Linked DNA regions of Homo sapiens: all the other regions are linked to region 1. Evidence: promoter capture Hi-C in 16 types of primary human blood cells and fetal thymus (Javierre and others, 2016). All regions are on one chromosome and are shown on one strand. The core of a region is centred on a gene start or on the middle of the fragment in contact, and the rest is flanking DNA. Distances in the headings are between cores, read along the strand shown. Region 1 holds the start of TMEM132E (transmembrane protein 132E). Region 2 overlaps LOC105371742 (a long non-coding RNA gene). Region 3 overlaps LOC105371742 (a long non-coding RNA gene).

Evidence for each region. Contacts are between HindIII fragments. The CHiCAGO score rates a contact against its expected background, and 5 or more counts as called.
Region 2: a contact is called between a fragment that was not itself captured here and the fragment with the promoter of TMEM132E in region 1, in 2 of 17 cell types (megakaryocytes and naive CD4 T cells). The highest score is 5.1, in megakaryocytes.
Region 3: a fragment that was not itself captured here is called in contact with the fragment with the promoter of TMEM132E in region 1 in 1 of 17 cell types (naive CD4 T cells); the score reaches 5.3 in naive CD4 T cells.

What each region holds. Positions count from the first base shown.
Region 1 is chr17:34,577,832-34,581,076 of GRCh38, reverse strand. It overlaps TMEM132E (transmembrane protein 132E), which reads right to left and starts at 1,495. Exons shown (of 9, transcript NM_001304438.2): 1 at 1-1,495. TMEM132E-DT (TMEM132E divergent transcript) reads left to right here and starts at 1,708. Exons shown (of 2, transcript NR_160787.1): 1 at 1,708-2,206. RefSeq lists enhancers at 1,471-2,006, 2,007-2,543. The HindIII fragment of the contact is 10,264 bases long and covers 1-3,245 here.
Region 2 is chr17:34,876,809-34,880,201 of GRCh38, reverse strand. All of the region lies in intron 2 of LOC105371742 (a long non-coding RNA gene), which reads left to right. Among named protein-coding and RNA genes, the nearest start is that of CCT6B, 83 kb to the left of the region's middle. The HindIII fragment of the contact is 1,632 bases long and covers 1,101-2,732 here.
Region 3 is chr17:34,908,826-34,912,337 of GRCh38, reverse strand. The region is part of intron 2 of LOC105371742 (a long non-coding RNA gene); the gene reads left to right. Among named protein-coding and RNA genes, the nearest start is that of CCT6B, 51 kb to the left of the region's middle. The HindIII fragment of the contact is 2,818 bases long and covers 688-3,505 here.

The sequences.
Region 1 (3,245 bases), core at 246-2,745:
GGCCGAGGCGGGGGCGGGAGGGGTCCGAGAGAGCAACAGTCGACGACGACTTGGCCCCAGGCTGGGCTTGGTCACATCCAACTCAGGGCTGCCGTGGCGCCCGGCTGTCTCAGATGCAGCTCCGGGACCAGAGAGTGCAATTCGGGGACACTTTGCGGGGAGGGGGCGTCCCAGGCGCTGGCGGCTACACCCTCGGAGCCGGTGGGGGCGCAGCTCCGGGCGGGAGGAGCCTCCACCTCCCCCAGCTGGTGCCCCCTGCAGGATCTGCGAGGCGCGGGGGGAGCTGCACGTGCAGTCCGGAGCCCGGTGGCCGCGGGCGTCCCGGGGGCTACCTAGAGCCCAGTGCTGAATCTCCCGGCCTCACGGCCCAGCTCGAATCCGAACTCACTCGAGGGTGCCGACTTCCAACGCAATCCCCAGTTTCCTCGGTTTCGGTAGTAACCGCACATGGATAGCGCCGCTTTCTTCCTCCAAGCCCCTGCAGCAGCCCAGCATAAAAATCCCAGGTCAGGTGCAAATGAATGCTGTCTTTCTCAAAGAAAGAGAAAATCCAGACAACTTTAATCCATCTGGAGAAGGAAAAGTTTCCGTGCGGTGCTGAAACTGGCGACGCCGGTCGCCACCACCCTAGGCGACGCCCAGACCGGATGCCCGAGGCGGGCGGCCAGATGTTTGTCCCCTCGCAAGGCTCGCTCCTCCGCTCCAGCGCGCTTTCTCCAGTCTGGATCAGGGCCCAGGCTCCACACAGGCCGGCTCAGCGCCTCCTGCCCAGGCAGCCGCTCGGCGGCTGGGGCAAGGGTGGCGCGGCCAGAACGGGCTGCCCCATGTAGATGGGGCTTGGAGAAGCGAGGGAGCGAGAAAGCCGGCTAATGCGCCCTGCCCCGAGCCCTTCCTGCCCAGGACGTCGACTCCAGCTTGATGACCATAAACGCTGTAAGATGCAGAGGGGCTCCTGCAGCTCACGGCAGCTCCGGGCCACCCCGCTAAGGTCTCGCTGTCTCGGCAGAGAGGCGCGCTGCCCCGCCTCGCTCCTCGCCTTCCCTGGGGGAACCTGCACAAACCTTGAACTTTTCTGGGGTTCAGAGTCTCCGACGCCTCCTCCCCGCCGCCCCCACCCTGTCCCCGGACGCCCGTTCGCCCGCTGTCTCGATGCTGCCGGGCATCGGCTCCCGCTCCCTCCGAGTCAGTTTGGGCGAGCGGATCGCCGCGCCAGTCCGGGCTGCGGGCGGTGAGACGCGGGCGCGGCGCCAGGGGCCAGGGCAGCCGGCACCTGCGCAGCTTGCGGCCAGGGAAGCGGCAGCTGGTGCCTACGGGGCCGAGAGGAGAGGAGGTGCTGGCAGGGGAGCCGGCTCCCCATGGACGTGTGTGGGGGAAGAAGAAGAATCGAGGAGCAAAAAGGAAGAGGAGGTGGGGGAAGCCACAGTTGCACGAAGCAGCCGCCGCCGCCGTCGCCGCCTCCTCGGCGCTCGCGCCGGCTGCTCCGCCGTAAATGACTCGAGAGAGACACACACACTCGCGCTCGCCCGCCCTCCTCCTCCGTCCGGGATTCAGCGCCCACCCGGGCAGAAGCGGGCGCCGAGCTTGGCGCGCTCACTCCCACCCCTCCCAGATTCCCCGTGGTCACGTGGCCCCCGAGCGCGCGGCCCACAGCTCGCGCGCCACGGAGACTCCCCGACTCCTAGCTCCCCCTCCTCTGTCCACGTGTCCATTCCGCATTCCTAGCCTGGCGGCGCGCGCGGCTCCTTAATGAGACTCGGGCCAAGGGCCGACCTCGCGATTCCGCTCGCCCCTATTTTATGTTTGATTTTTCCTTCCCAACGCCGGCTAGCGCTGGGACCCGAATGGGGCCGGCCAGCTGCGGCGGGAGGAGCCTCCACCTCCCTCAGCTGCGTTTCTCCAGGGTAGACGCCACCGCAGTCACTGATGTCCCTTTTCAAAGGATGCACGCTCCCCACCGGGCGCCGGAGGTGTTTTGCAGCCGCTCTTCCAGAGGCGCGGGTAGGGGGCACCCTACCCCCACCCCCAGAGTTCGCTGGGCACTGGCTGGGAATCAGCCTCGCTGCTGTGCCCAGCTCCTCTCGGGCCGCGGGGGCTCTGGGGCTCAGCTTCGTGCGGGATGGGTCCGGGGCGCAGCTGTGGGAAACCTATTTATTCTGTTGCTGGGGAAGGAAGACGGAGAAGAGGAGGGGACAGTGCTTTCCTACAGGTTGTTTAGCAAGCCTTTAAAGAGGCATGAGGTGGGGGTGGGGAACTGCCCCTCTTGCATACTCACCCAGGCACCTGCTGACTAGCGGGAGGGGTGGCTGGAGTGATATCTGTTCCCACCATCAGGCCCTTTCCATTAGAGTGCAACCTAGATCAGACCCGGCAAGTCAACCTTCACACCTCATCTGTCAACCAGGCATCGGATCCATGGCAATGATTTTATAGCTTCGTTGGGTATCAACTCCAATCCCCAGAGGGTGAATTTCAATCCTACCCTGCTCTGGAGGGACAGGGTCTTCAATCCCATGGACATATCCCTACTGGGGAGGATATGGATCTTGAGGGTCACCCTTCCATACCTCTGCACTCAACTGGAGTGAGAGTGTGGGGCCAGGTCAGAGCAAAGCCAGCTGGGGCACTCAAACCGTGCCCTCCATCTGCCTGACTCCATGCTAGCCCTCTTGACCCTGAGAGTTTCCTTTCATCTAGGACGGTGACATTTTGTTTTTGGAAAATGTGCTTGCATTTTTCATGGAAGGCTTCCTCCTCCCTGGCTGCTGGCTGTTGCTGCCTCGCTTGGTACTGGGGCCTGTAGAGGGCTGCTCTGGCCCTTCCCCCACCCCTACATCTGTCTGGAGCTGGGGGGAGGTGCAGCCTGAGGAGAGCTGGCCAGCTCTTGGAGGCCCTGGGGATAGAAGGTGCTGGAGTCGTCAAAGAAGATTATTCTCATTAGGCCCCTAATGCCTGATGGCAATTAATGTCACCCAAGGGCTTATTCACCAACCCCCTGAGAAGCAAGCTAGCAATCAGGCTCTGTGTGGGGGAGAAAGGGGGAAAGATCCACCTCCTGAGGCAGAGGAGGGCTTCAGGAAGAGGAGGAAGGAAGCAGGGAGGGCCCTCCATCCCTGCCCAGCACCCCATCAGAAGGGTCATGGAGCCTGAGCATGGCCAGAAGGAAGAGACAAGGTGCTTTTCTGAGCCCAAGACACACCTTACCCTGTGTTGTGGATCAAATTTCCTTTCTCCTCAAATGTTCCCAG
Region 2 (3,393 bases), core at 667-3,166, 300 kb before region 1:
GGGGTTTAATCTCTGTGACTCTCTCCCTTATAGGATTTCTCAAATCACTTTCCACTGGATTTGTTCACCCACATTTTCTCTGATTCTTCAAGCAACTAAGACTGTGGATTTCCTATAAACTTAGCTACAGTATGTGACACTGATTATGATCTGCCCTCAGGAGAAAAGCTTTAAAAACATTAAGTCCACCCATTGCTATTCTTCCAAGTGTCAATTCCCTTCCATTTTTGCCTGCTTTTTGTTTCACCAGTGCCTTTAAGTAGCTTTAAAATATCTTTTCCAGAGTTTATAGTTGTTATCTGAGGGAGGACAGATCTGATGGTAGCCATTTGATCATTATTGAAAGCCTTGTTTCATTTTTGAGCAGGTGATTCCTCCAATGGCTCTTACCAGGCAGGGTTTGTTTTAAAGCTACGTCAGGCTTAGCAGAGTCTCTAGGAATCTGGTCTTCAACTCCTAGCAGTAGATACTTATACCATGACAATGATGTGTTGTACCTGGCTCTTGGAAGCGTTTGCAACCATGTGTATGCCAACCTTCTGGGTGGTGTTACCTTCTGTGTTCCCTTTACTATCACCTTCCTTGGGAAGGAGAACTCTAGGCTACAAGGGGCATCCAGCCTCAGGTCCCTCTCCCAGGTGCCCTCTTGCATGGAGTTGGAGGGGTGGGCTTTGTCCCTTCCTAAAGCACACTCTTGGCAAAGTCTTGATTGGGAGAAGAAGAGGTGTCAGAAGGGAGAGAGAGGCAAACTTCCCAACTTGGCAATGTCATCCAAGTGTATGTCTCTTTAAACTCTGCCTTAGGGGGCTTGTCAGATGGCCACCACCTGTTCAGCTTCCCCCAGACACTTCTGGGGCTCCAGATGTGTGCCAAGAGCTGGGAAAAATTGGCTCTTCCACGAAATTCCTTTCCTCTTTCATTGGAGATATCAGAAAGGCTAGAGCATGATGGCAAAATCGCTGTGCTTTTAAAAATGTTCCTGCTTTGTAGAGGCGTTGTTTTCCTCCCCTGTTTCTTCTTTTAAAAATCTCCTGTGTGTCAGAGATGAAGCCAGAAGAGAAATGTCCCTTTGATGGCTGAGAATTATTGTTCTAAAAGCTTTATTTAAGCTGCTCTTAACAAAACTCAAACATCTGGCTTGTGGTGCCTGTGTGCCAGCTTTCAGCTTGAAGGGGAAGGCATAGAGATGGCAAGCTCTGAGGCTTGGGGGAGGAAGGCAGCGCCTGCTATGGCCAGCTCTGCTTCCGAGGCCACTGCCTGCACTGTGCCTCCTTGATGGGGTTCTGTGGCCGGGGGCAGAGGAAGAAAACCACTTTCTTGAGCTTGCCTTTATGATAGAGACATTTTGCTAGAGTAAATGTATCCAAGCCCATCCCTCAGGGCTTAAAATATGAGAGAGAATCAGAACTTGAGCCTAAGAGAAGCTGGGCTGTGCAGAAATGGAAGGAGGGTTGTATTTATCCAACACATATTCTATGCCAGATATTTTTATATCCATTGTCAGGCTCAATTACTGCAACAACTCCATGCAGCAGATATTAATATCCTTTCATTACAGATAAGAAAATTGAGGTTATAACTTGCTCAAGTTTACCTAGTTAGCAGGTAGCAGAGTCAGGACCCAACCTCAAGGCTGCTGCCCCCAGAGCCTGGGTTTCTTCCATTATGTCTGACCTCCTCTCACATGAGCCCTGAAACCTGGATTCTCAGGGCAACATGCTGTCTTCCTCTTCCAAAATGCACAGGGGATCTTTGGTTTGGAGAGGAAAGGGATGGGATCTGATGGCAAATGACTTCTCTGACAATGCAAAGGTAAACATGCACTGCTCCAGGCTGGAATTCTGACCTTGGCAACCAAGAGCTGGGTGATGTTGAGCAAGTTACTTAACTTCCCTGAACCTTAGATTTTTCAGGTGGGGATAAGACCACTCACTGGGGGGATCCCAGCAAGAAATGTGTGTAAAAGCCAATGGTTCTGTGCCCAGCCCAGAAGAGGTGCTTAGCAAGTGTTAGTCTTTCTCTTCCTCCTCTTCTACAGCTAAGAGAGGTTCAGGGCCCAGCCCCAGAACCAGGAGTCTAGATGCACAGACCTGGAGGAAATCGAGGGGGACTAGGCCAGGTACCTTGAGGGGCTCCAGCTGCCTCTGGTTTTTCGAGGTTGGTGTTCAACCCCATGAGGGGACTGAGTGAGCCTCAATGTGGGGCTGGTCCACGTGTGTCTCTCACCTGGTGGGCCCTGGATCCTGGAGGTCTCCCTTCTGGAGGTCCCTCAGAAACCACTGCATCCACCCTTCACATTTTACAGGCAGGAAGACGGAGGCCAGAATAGGAAAGAGACTTGGCCAAGGCTACATAGCAAATAGGAGGACGAGCTGGAGCTAGGCCTCAGCCTTTTAGCCTCTGAAGCCAGCGCTGGATAGCAGAGAGTGCATGTACTCTCTGTTCCCTGAAGGCACCAGGGCTGTGGTTTCCCCCAGAAACTGTGCCTCTCCTGAGGCCCAGCGGCCCTTACCTGAAGCCAGCAGGGGATGTGAAGAATGCCTGGAGTGACTCCCGCTCCTGCTGATGTGGCTCTGATCTGCCTGCAAGCATCTGTTCACCACTCTCTGATCATTACGTGGGTGGAATCTGCCCATTAGTACTTCACACCCAGGGTCTCAGCATTGCCAGGCAATTAGGATGCCCAAGATCTGAATCACTTGCTGCTGCTTCGGAATGTACTCAGGAAAGCTTTCTCCCTTTTTCTTGAGGCCCAGTGTTTCCAGCTGTGAACTGAAGGCAAGGGACCTGCCTTGGAGGATGACAGTGTTTGGAGAAACACTAAATGATGCTTTGGAGGCCTGAGACATTAAAACAGATAAATATAGGGCATCCCTATCATTTGATCTTTCTTCACATTTCCCTCAACAACTGCTCTTCCCTTTTCCTCCCTTTCTGTTTCCTCCTTTCCTTCCTGTCTCCCTTTCTCCTTTCTGATACTTGTTGAGCATCTGAGAGGCGTGATAGAGGCCTGGGAAGTGGCACTGGGCAGTGGAATCATAGGAGACAGGGCGAGTATGTTTGGAGAGTTTCTTGAGACTCCCAGGAACAGGCGGAGCCACAGGAGAGAATGGAGAGAAACTGCAGAAAAGATAAAGGTGGTCATCAGAGCAGCGCCAAACCTCAGGAGAAGCTGGAAGAAGGACATTTAAGAGGATATTAGGCCTTCAAGGAGCTGAGAATTAAGCTGAGCCTGCAGGGACCCAGCCAGGGACTGGGAATTCTACATCCTTTTCCAAAAAAACAGACACCTAGGTGGCTTTTGGTCCATGTTTACCGCAGGGGACTCATGTAGCAGTGCCTGCTGTAAGCCCTGCTGGCTGAGATCCTCTCTGGAGGTTGTAGGCTCTGAGC
Region 3 (3,512 bases), core at 847-3,346, 330 kb before region 1:
TGTCCAGGCTCCTGTCCTGTGCATCCTAATAATTAGGAACACAGACTCTGAAGCCAGCCTACCTGGTTCAAATCCCAGCTCTGCCACTTAACTGGTTGACTCTTTGGGTAAGTCACTTAACTTCTCTGTACCTCAGCTTCCTCATCTATAAAATGGAGATTATAACAGTATCCACCACACAGGGTTGGGAAGATGAAGGGACTTCAAATAAAGTTTTAAGAGCAGTGCCTGGTGCATAGTGTTAGCTGCTATTATTATTGTTACTTGGCATCTTCCCTTCTCTCTGTCTGCTTTGTCTAAATTTTACAATCTTTTCCCTTCTCCACAGAAATCCATATTCTCTTGTCTCCCATGAGTAATGAACCACTTCTTTCTCCCTCGCCACAGCCATCTAGTGAGCCCTTCCTCACCATCCCATTTCTGGGATGCCTCAGTGGATGACAAATATTTGTCACCTCCATGTCCTCACCAAACCTTAAGCAGCAGCAGAGCATGGGCCTGGGAGGCGGGTGTTTCTGTGGCAGGAATGGGAGGAAGGCTTCTGCCAGGAAGGCTCTCCCGTATCCCCATTCCCACCCATCACAATGGCCTAAGAGGCCCCACACCTGCCTCTCCAGCCTCATCATCTCTTACCCTCCCAACTCTCTCCAGCCACACTGGCCCTCCTGCTGTTCCTCCTGTCAAGCTTGTTTCTGTCTTGGGAACTTTCCCTGACTTTTTTTTTTTTCTTTCAGAGACGGAGTTTTGCTCTTGTCGCCCAGGCTGGAGCTTAGTGGTATGATCTCAGCACACTGCAACCTCTGCCTCTGGGATTCAAGCAATTCTCCTACCTCAGCCTCCTGAGTAGCTGGGATTACAGGTGCGTGCCACCATGCCCAGCTAATTTTTGTATTTGTAGTAGAGAGGGGGGGTTTCACCATGTTGGCCAGGCTGGTCTTGAACTCCTGACCTCAGGTGATCCTCCTACCTCGGCCTCCCAAAATGCTGGGATTACAGGCATGAGCCACCGTGCCCAGCCAACTTTTCTCTTAGCCAAGAACACTCTTTCCCCAGACTCTCACAGGGCTTACTCCCCCAACTCAACTTAGTTACCCTTTCTTTTTTAAAAAAACAGCTCCATCTCCTGCCATGTTCTGTATCTTCTGCTTTATTTTATTTGGAACAGTCATCACTATTAAATAAAATCCTGGATTTGTTCATTGTTCATCTCCCCCCAAATCAGATTGGAATATGCTCTCTGTTCCCAGTGGATTTCTCCCTGGCACGTCTGGGGAATTTTACTGATTGAGTAAATGGTTAAGGCTGACCTACGTACTCCATCTCTGGCCATGCTTTCTTTTTGAGGGATGAGCAAATACTCCAGGAGGTGTGGACAGACTCTAGGGTGGGATAGGGTCGGGGAGGCTGGTTGCAGTGGGCTTCCACAGCCAAGGTTGGGATGCTGTGTGGAGCCCCTGTCTTAGCGGACTCCTACATTCTCCTCTCTTGGCTCCAGATCCTCTGCTTCAATAATTAAAAATAGCTTCAGTCAGTGTTCAAAGCAACTCCATATACATTGTCTTCTCTTAATCTTCACAAATATAATAATTAACTCAGGGAGGCAGAGTTCCCCTTGTTTTCTAACAAGAGTTGACCGCAGGTAACACTGGCTTTGGAATGACTCTGGGAAGTAATGAGGACCCTGGCCTCGGAGACCAGGCCACCTCTTGGCAGGAGAGTTTTGGTAGCTATGCAAGTGCCTGGGTTGAATTACATGGACTTTGTAATCCTTTCAAGCCTGGAGGTTTAGGATTCCCCAATCCTGTCTTGCCCACGAGGATACTAAGGCTTGCTCAAGGTAGAGATCTGGGGATAGAGGGGTGTGAGATTCTTAAAGCAAGGTCTGCAAACACCCTTCAGGACCGTTTGATTTGTGCACAGCAGCATGTTTCCACCTCCCTCGTTTCTCGCATGCGGGTGCAGGGGAGAGAGAATCCAGGGTGCGCGGTCTTCTTCTCAAGGCCGCCAGGGAGGCCAGTGTGGAGGAGACAGGGCTGAAGGGCTGGGCTCCCTCCCTGGCCCAGAGCCTGCTTAGTGTCACCTCCCTCCCCTCCCCAGCCTCCACATTTTGCTGCAGGCTATTAAGGGCCCCCATCTGTACCACCTCTCATTAATTAAAAATGCTACAAACCGTCTGTTTAAGGAAGCCTCAGAGAGGGGCTGCCTGCCTAAGGCAGCATTCTCTCATACTTCTCAACTTTAATTGAAAACATATTTTTCGAATAAAACCCAGCCCCATAAACCCTTCTTGCTGCTGTTGGCAGTGATGGTGGAGAGGTGAGTATGATGAGCCCAGAGCCAGCAGAAGCTCTGGAGTTGGGGACCGTGGTGTTGGCAGAATTTAGGAGGAGGCATGTGGTTTTGCCAGCTTGCTGGAGTGAAGGCACTCCAGCCTCTGGCGGATAGCGGGAGGGAGGAGCTGAGACGTAGATGCTGGCTGCTAGAAAGATAAGGACAGAAACATAGAAGGGCCCAGCTTAGAGGAGCACACCTTGTGCATGGGGGGAGCCAGAGGGCCCCTAACTCTGAGAATCCTAACTCTGCCCCCACTGGGTGTGGGACCAGGGGCACTTCCCCAAGTGAGCTACTTCACCTCCCTGGGTTACTAGAGTCCAGATGGGCCCCTGGCTCTCAGCAATGGGATGGTTTAGTGTTGGGGATGTGCTCGAGGGTCCGGGCCCCCCACCAAGGGCCCTCTGTGGGGAGCAGGACAGACCCCGGGCCTTTCTCCTGGCTGTCACTCTGCTTTCCTCGGCTCTAGGACCATTCCCCATTGTTCTTGTCCTGCCTGTCTCCCTGGGAATATTTTAAAAGTTTGAGGTCACTGTCACTTATGAGATGGGGGCTGGGTGTGGTGGAAATTTCAGCCCAGGGCCTGGCCTGTGGGTACTCTGTCTCGTGGCTGGATTCCTTGGAGACAGACAGGGCAGCTCCCTGGCAATGGAAAAGATGGTAGCCCTTCTCCCCCAATCCATATACAAAAGGCCCTGGGGCTCACTAATTACGCTCTTTTTGACTACCCTGCAGTGAGGCAGAATAAGAATTATCATCCCCACTTCCCCATTTTCAGGGAAGGAAACTGATGGTTAGAAACAGAAGGTGGCTCCAGATCACACAGCGATTCAAGCCAGAGCTGGTTCCAGCATCCAGGCCTCTGGCACCAAGGCCAATTCTCCCATCACACTTCTCTTCCGGTTCTCCCCTCCTCTGGGTCTTTTTGGAGCAGAGGCGATGGTGGAGGCAGGGACAGTATACCCTGAACCCAGAATGCCAACCTAGCCCAGTCCATGGTGGGCACTGCTTGCCTTTGATTTTCCTGAGCATGTCTTTATTGCCAGCCAGAAGCAGCTAATTCATCTCTGTTCCTGGTGCCTCCTGCAGAGCCTCATATAGATCCTCAATCATATGTATGGAGTGAAGAGGTGAGTGAATAAATGGATGAAGGAAAGAAGGAAGGAAGGAAGCTTGTTCCT